Regions from separate parts of the Homo sapiens genome. Here region 2 is linked to region 1. Evidence: promoter capture Hi-C in 16 types of primary human blood cells and fetal thymus (Javierre and others, 2016). All regions are on one chromosome and are shown on one strand. Each heading gives the region's core, a stretch centred on a gene start or on the middle of the fragment in contact. The rest is flanking DNA. Distances are from core to core; before and after follow the strand shown. Region 1 holds the start of LINC01948 (long intergenic non-protein coding RNA 1948). Region 2 overlaps IL6ST (interleukin 6 cytokine family signal transducer).

The links. Contacts are between HindIII fragments. The CHiCAGO score rates a contact against its expected background, and 5 or more counts as called.
Region 2: a contact is called between a fragment that was not itself captured here and the fragment with the promoter of LINC01948 in region 1, in 2 of 17 cell types (naive B cells and total B cells). The highest score is 6.8, in naive B cells.

What each region holds. Positions count from the first base shown.
Region 1 is chr5:56,480,439-56,483,184 of GRCh38, reverse strand. LINC01948 (long intergenic non-protein coding RNA 1948) reads left to right here and starts at 1,416. Exons shown (of 5, transcript NR_104664.1): 1 at 1,416-1,632. RefSeq lists an enhancer at 1,488-1,647. The HindIII fragment of the contact is 6,332 bases long and covers 1-2,746 here.
Region 2 is chr5:55,935,149-55,937,950 of GRCh38, reverse strand. IL6ST (interleukin 6 cytokine family signal transducer) reads left to right here. Exons shown (of 17, transcript NM_002184.4): 17 at 1-2,802. Among named protein-coding and RNA genes, the nearest start is that of IL6ST, 58 kb to the left of the region's middle. The HindIII fragment of the contact is 1,342 bases long and covers 841-2,182 here.

The DNA.
Region 1 (2,746 bases), core at 167-2,666:
AGCCTTGCCAGCATCTGTTGTTTTTTTGACTTTTTAATAATAGTCATTCTGAGTGGTGTGAGATCTCATCGTGGTTTTGATTTGCATTTCTCTGATAATCAGCAATGCTGAGCATCTTTTCACATTTGTTGGCTGCTTGCATGTCTTCTTTTGAGAAGTGTCTGTTCATGTCTTTTGCCCACTTTTTAACAGGGTTGTTTGTGTTTGTGTTTTGCTTGCATAGCTGCTTTCCATGTTCTTTTCTATGTTATCTAGAACTATAATAAAAGTAACTGCCCAGCTCTTTGGGAGGCTGGGGCAGGCGAATCACTTGAGGTCAGGAGTTCAAGGGTAGCCTGGCCAATATGGTGAAACCCTGTCTCTATTAAAAATACAAAAATTAGCCGAGTGTGGTGGCACACACCTGGATTCCCAGCTACTCAGGAGGCTGAGGCAGGAGAATTACTTGAACCCCCAAGGCGGAGGTTGCAGTGAGCCCAGATCGCACCACTGTACTCCAGCCTGGGAGACAGAGTGAGACAGCGTCTCAAAAAAACAAAAAAAAAGGAACTAGGTCTAAGACAGGGTACCCAATCTATTTCTAAGAAGATGCTACTTCTCATTTTCTGGAAACACTGTAGCAAAGAGGAAGGGACAATAATGTCCCATAGTGGGTGGGCAGATATAAAAACCCCAAGATGTTCATTTCAGGCCCAAAGTGACTACTGCTTGCTACCCTCACCTTTCTCTGCTGGAACACTACCAGCCCCTGTGAGATGTGGGTGATCTCATGGGTGTTTGGAAGAATCCCAGTACCAGGCTAGGGGATCATCAAAGCTGACTGGATCAGTCCTGCTAGATCAGGAAGCCTTACTGAGTAAGGCTAATGCCAGGTCTCCAAACTGCCACTGAGCATCAGGGGTCCTTCCCACAATATCTTTGTTTCTCTAGGTCAAGAAATGATGCCGTCCCTAGAAACAGCGCAATGTTTATGTAAGAGTCAACTCAGAGACCTTGTGCCGGTACAAGAGGTACTATCTCATCCTGCTCCCCTGCAGGCACTAAATGAGACAAAATTCCTTCTGGAGTTCAAGTCCAGAAGGCTGACTATGCTGTTAATGGCAGTATACTGAGTTAAGAGAATTCGGGGAGACGGGAATATTGGGTCCACGATTCTGCCTGGAGGGAAGAATTGTGGTCTCCTCAGTCCTGTGGAGTAGGGGTCCGGGCTGATGATAGCGCCTCCTGGTGCAGAGTATACAAACAGCTGAAGATCTGCCTGGACCCCCTACCCCTCTCTTTTTTCCTTGTGGAAACTGTGTATAATTTGGAAAGAGCAAGGACATCCTGGCTCGCAGCTGGCCAGCTCCACCTGCGACCTGGACAGCCTCGCCCCTCCCTGCGGAGCCAGGCGAGTTCACAGGGCTGCCTCCGCTTCTTGCAGCATGTCTGCTCTCCTGGCCTGGCCTCTCCAGACCTTTCCCTCCACGGGCAGCGATTTCCAAGGCTCTCAAGACTCCAAACCACGTCGTTTTGGGAGTGAAAAAGTGAAAGCACACATCGTGTCATTAGAGCAGCAGGGACCAGCTGCTGGGTCAACACTTCCGAAAACAGCGCTTCCTGGGGAGCGACCGGAGCATCTCAGAATCTACGGTTTGACCTCCTGCCAATTCTCATGGTGTCTTTATACATTTTAACACAAAAATAAGATGTTTTCACTTGAGAGCGAGAGGGAAATGAACTGTTAAGGTGCTCTGTCGCCAGAGAAGTGAAGTTGGGGGGTAAATTTTAGGAACCCCCGACCCCCCTACCGAGGGAGGATGCGAAGTCGGCTCCTGAAACGCGAGCGAAACCCCCGCGCGCTTCCCGGGGTGACGCACATGTCTGTGTTTCTTTTTGCTTTTGACCAAAAGTCGTAGGGAGGGTCCTCCTCAGGGGACAGTCGCGGGCGCTGTGCCAGTCCTTCCTGTCCCCCCACCAAAGTCAACCCCAGCCCCAGGCCAAGGCCGCCCCGGCCGGAAGAGCCAGCTGGTGGGGGCCGTGGGGGGCGCGGCGGGCGCGCGGGGCTGGGGGCGGCGGGTCCGCCTACCCCGCCTTCCTGGCGTGGAGAGTTTCGGCCCCAGCCTCGCTGGCGTGGACTCTGCCTGAACCACGCCTGGGATGCTTTTGCCAAAGGAAACTTGGGGGGTGGGGGCGGGGCGGGCGACGATTCCCCCCCTCCCCACCCCGCCCCTGTCCTCCTCGGCCGGGAGCCGCGCTGGGCCGGGGTCAGCTGGCTGCCTTTGTGGCCGCTTCCCAGGAAGGAAGAAGCGTTGTCTGCAGATCAGTTGATCCGCGGGCTTTCCTGTGTCGGAATGCCGCCGTTTTCCGGGGACGGCTGCCACCCCCGTGATTCCCAGCCGGGGCTGCCGGCCGTGCGTAAGAGCCGGATAAATAGGCCATTGTGAGGCCGTTCAGATCTAGGTTTCTTATCACAGTATCCACCAGCGAGAAGCAGATTCGGCCCCTGATGGAGCTCATCCCAGCTTCTCTTTTCTTTCTCTGCACAGTTACAGCCATTTCTATTTTTTGCAGTTGTAAAGGGAATATTCAGAAAGCAATTTATTGTGTGCGACAGGGACTTAAGGGAGCGTGTCTGCAGACCGTGTTCCCACCGGGGTTGGGGTTCGCAACCTTGAGTTTAGCTCGATGGGCTTTGGTGTGTGAGGTTTCTACCCGCCCATCGCCCAAGGCAGGCACGTCCTTAAACACCAGCTGCAAGTATCAG
Region 2 (2,802 bases), core at 262-2,761, 550 kb after region 1:
TTCTGTTTACTAACATATATTGACCAAGTACATCAAGCAGGAGAGATCTTCCTTCATTCTGTTATAGTCCACATCATTCTAATTTTGCTCAGTTGTTATTAAGAGCATATTCCTAAACCATACACTTTTGTTTCAATAAAGTTTTATTTTGTTGAGATGAATAAAATAACAAAGTTATAAGCTGCATAAGACAAAAGTTCAATTGTTCAAAAAAAATTTACTGGGATAGCTTTCTATTACAGGTATTGTTAGATTATATTGTGCTGATAAGATTACTTTCTAAAAAATTTGTACTTTTCTGTAAATTAAAAGAATATGGAGTCATAAAATGGCAAGTGTTTTAGGATTAGCCTAAAATTGGACATTGTCATTGATTTCAAAGAAGGTATGAACTAGCAGTCTTACAGCCTAATTCTTCTTTGGACTGGTCCTTGGCAGCAGTTCCTTTTCAGACTCGATAAACAGAATTCAGATGATGTAAGTCAAAACAAAACTTTACAAAGCCAAGCGTATTATCTTTTGCATTAACCTATTTTTTTCCATCATACATGCTACTAGTATGTGCATTAGCATGATATTCTCATATACATTGCATTAAAAATTAAAAGGTGGCAGCTCAGGGTGAGCTCTTCTGTTGCTCATTTGTTCCTAAATTTTTAAGGGCTTTTTCTCAGTCAATAGTTTGTACAAACTGGTTAGTTTAACTTCATTACCCATTTCATTAAAGTTGATGGGTCGTGTGATGAGATGCATTTAAGGCCGATAGTGATAGATGTTTTTTTTATTTCTTGAACACAGGCTTTGTCTGAATGATGTTCTTTTATCTCTTGAACACAAGCTTTGAATGATAACTACAGGTTTTAAGTGCTGTTACATTAATACCATAATGTGATGTGTTAGAAACAAAGGGATATTTCAAAGGTAGATATTTGAAAATTCTCTAGTCTCAATATGTATGTGTATTGAATATACTCTAAAAATAAATGTGCAATTTGCTAGTAGGACAATGCAGTGACTGACTAGCATTAGGTATGTTTCTTTTATATCCTAGCTATGTCCCACTTTCTTCTAAGTGCAATCCTTTCATGTTCACTTGCTGTTTTACCCCATCTACTCTAACTTCATTTGGAAGGCTTGTCTAGAGTATAGCATGTATTTTTACCTTTGCAGTGAATTGCATGTGCTAATTGTAACCACAGCTATTTTTATGTTGACATAACTCCAAATGTTATATTAAATGTTCTATTATATATTAGCTCTAATCCCTTAAGTAAATTTTAAGAAATAAATACTTGTTCAAATTTTTTTTCTGTATGTGGTTACTATCATCTGACTATGCATATTTGTAACAGCATTTATCATTAGTGGTGTTAGCTAAATAAGCATCTTAGTGTAAATGAGATGCTTCGTGTGGGTTTTGTGACATTTTAAATGACATAATGGAATGTGATTTAAAAGAAAACCAGTACACTATCTTGGTCTTAATAACATAGAATGGAGATGGCAAATTTATCCACTAGTTTTCCAGATTTACTATTTAATAGCTGAGGTCTGAAATCGTAGCATCCTCCCTCCTAGTGGACATTAAAAAAAAAAAAAAAAAAAAAAACCTACTTGGTTGTCAAGAGCCCAAGTATGGAGGTGCTGCGCCATCTTGTGGCCTGTCTGTGCCCACCCTGCACTCTGCTGGAGTCTCCATCCTTGTTGCAGTGAGACTTGAAGTTCAAGATTGATACATGGCATCCTCCTGCTACTTCTTGAGGTTACTAAGTAGTATATGAAACTAATCAGTCAGCAAGTCCACCTGGAAGGAAAAGAAAATCTCAACTATTAATGTGCCTTCACATTGTGATTTTGTCTAAAAAAATGTAGTGAGTCAAAAAACCCACAAGCCAGCCAACAGTAACTCCTTCACATATATACCAGAGTTTATAGAAATAACATGTCAGCTTTGGGCTATGTGCTCCTTTGTTTAAAATCTTCTATTTGGTTATGGCTTGTATAGGCTCAAGCCTGATTTCTTTAAGGTGTGGTGGCTCATCTTATCCTAATGTGTATGATAGATACAGTCCATCCTGCTTTGGAAAAGATTATGTAACTCCTTGAGAGCATACTCTTTCTCTAGCCCAAAGGCAGTGAGAGAGTTTTCTTGTTCAGGATTGCTTAACTTTCCATTTAAGCTTTTTCTTTTTAAATTAATACAAACTTCTACACTTTCAAAATACGAAATATATTACAACTGCGTATAGGCTCTTCCATACTTAAGTCCAGTGCTTGGGCAAGTTAATGGAGTGAAAGACTACAAGCAAAGAGGAACTGAGGTAGAAAAAGAAGAATGTGTGAAAGCAGCAGGAAGCTCAGCCAACTCGAAAGCAGGGTGAACAGCTTGAGTCCTGTTGCTGCTGATCGGGGTTGGCTCTTGGACAACTTAGTAAGATCATGGAAAGGCTGCTTGGGTTCTCCATAGAAAAGTTCTGTCTCCATCAAGGGAGGAAAATGTACCTTTCAACTCAAAATTCAATATTTGTTTTTAAATATAGCTATTTTCCCCAACCGCTAAAGATTTTCAACAGATACGAAGCCAGAGCTTAGTTTTAGAAACCTGTGGACATTCAAACCTGATTCTTTATTCCCTGTGACTATGGTTATGTCATTTTACATGTCAAAAAAGTGTATCTAGAATTGTCATTTCTTATTTTTGAGCTTTTTTTAGTGAGAATTATCCCCTCACTTAAATGGCTTTTTATTTAAACATCTGTGCATTCTGTATGAAATTGTAGTCTTTCTGGGATAACATGGTGA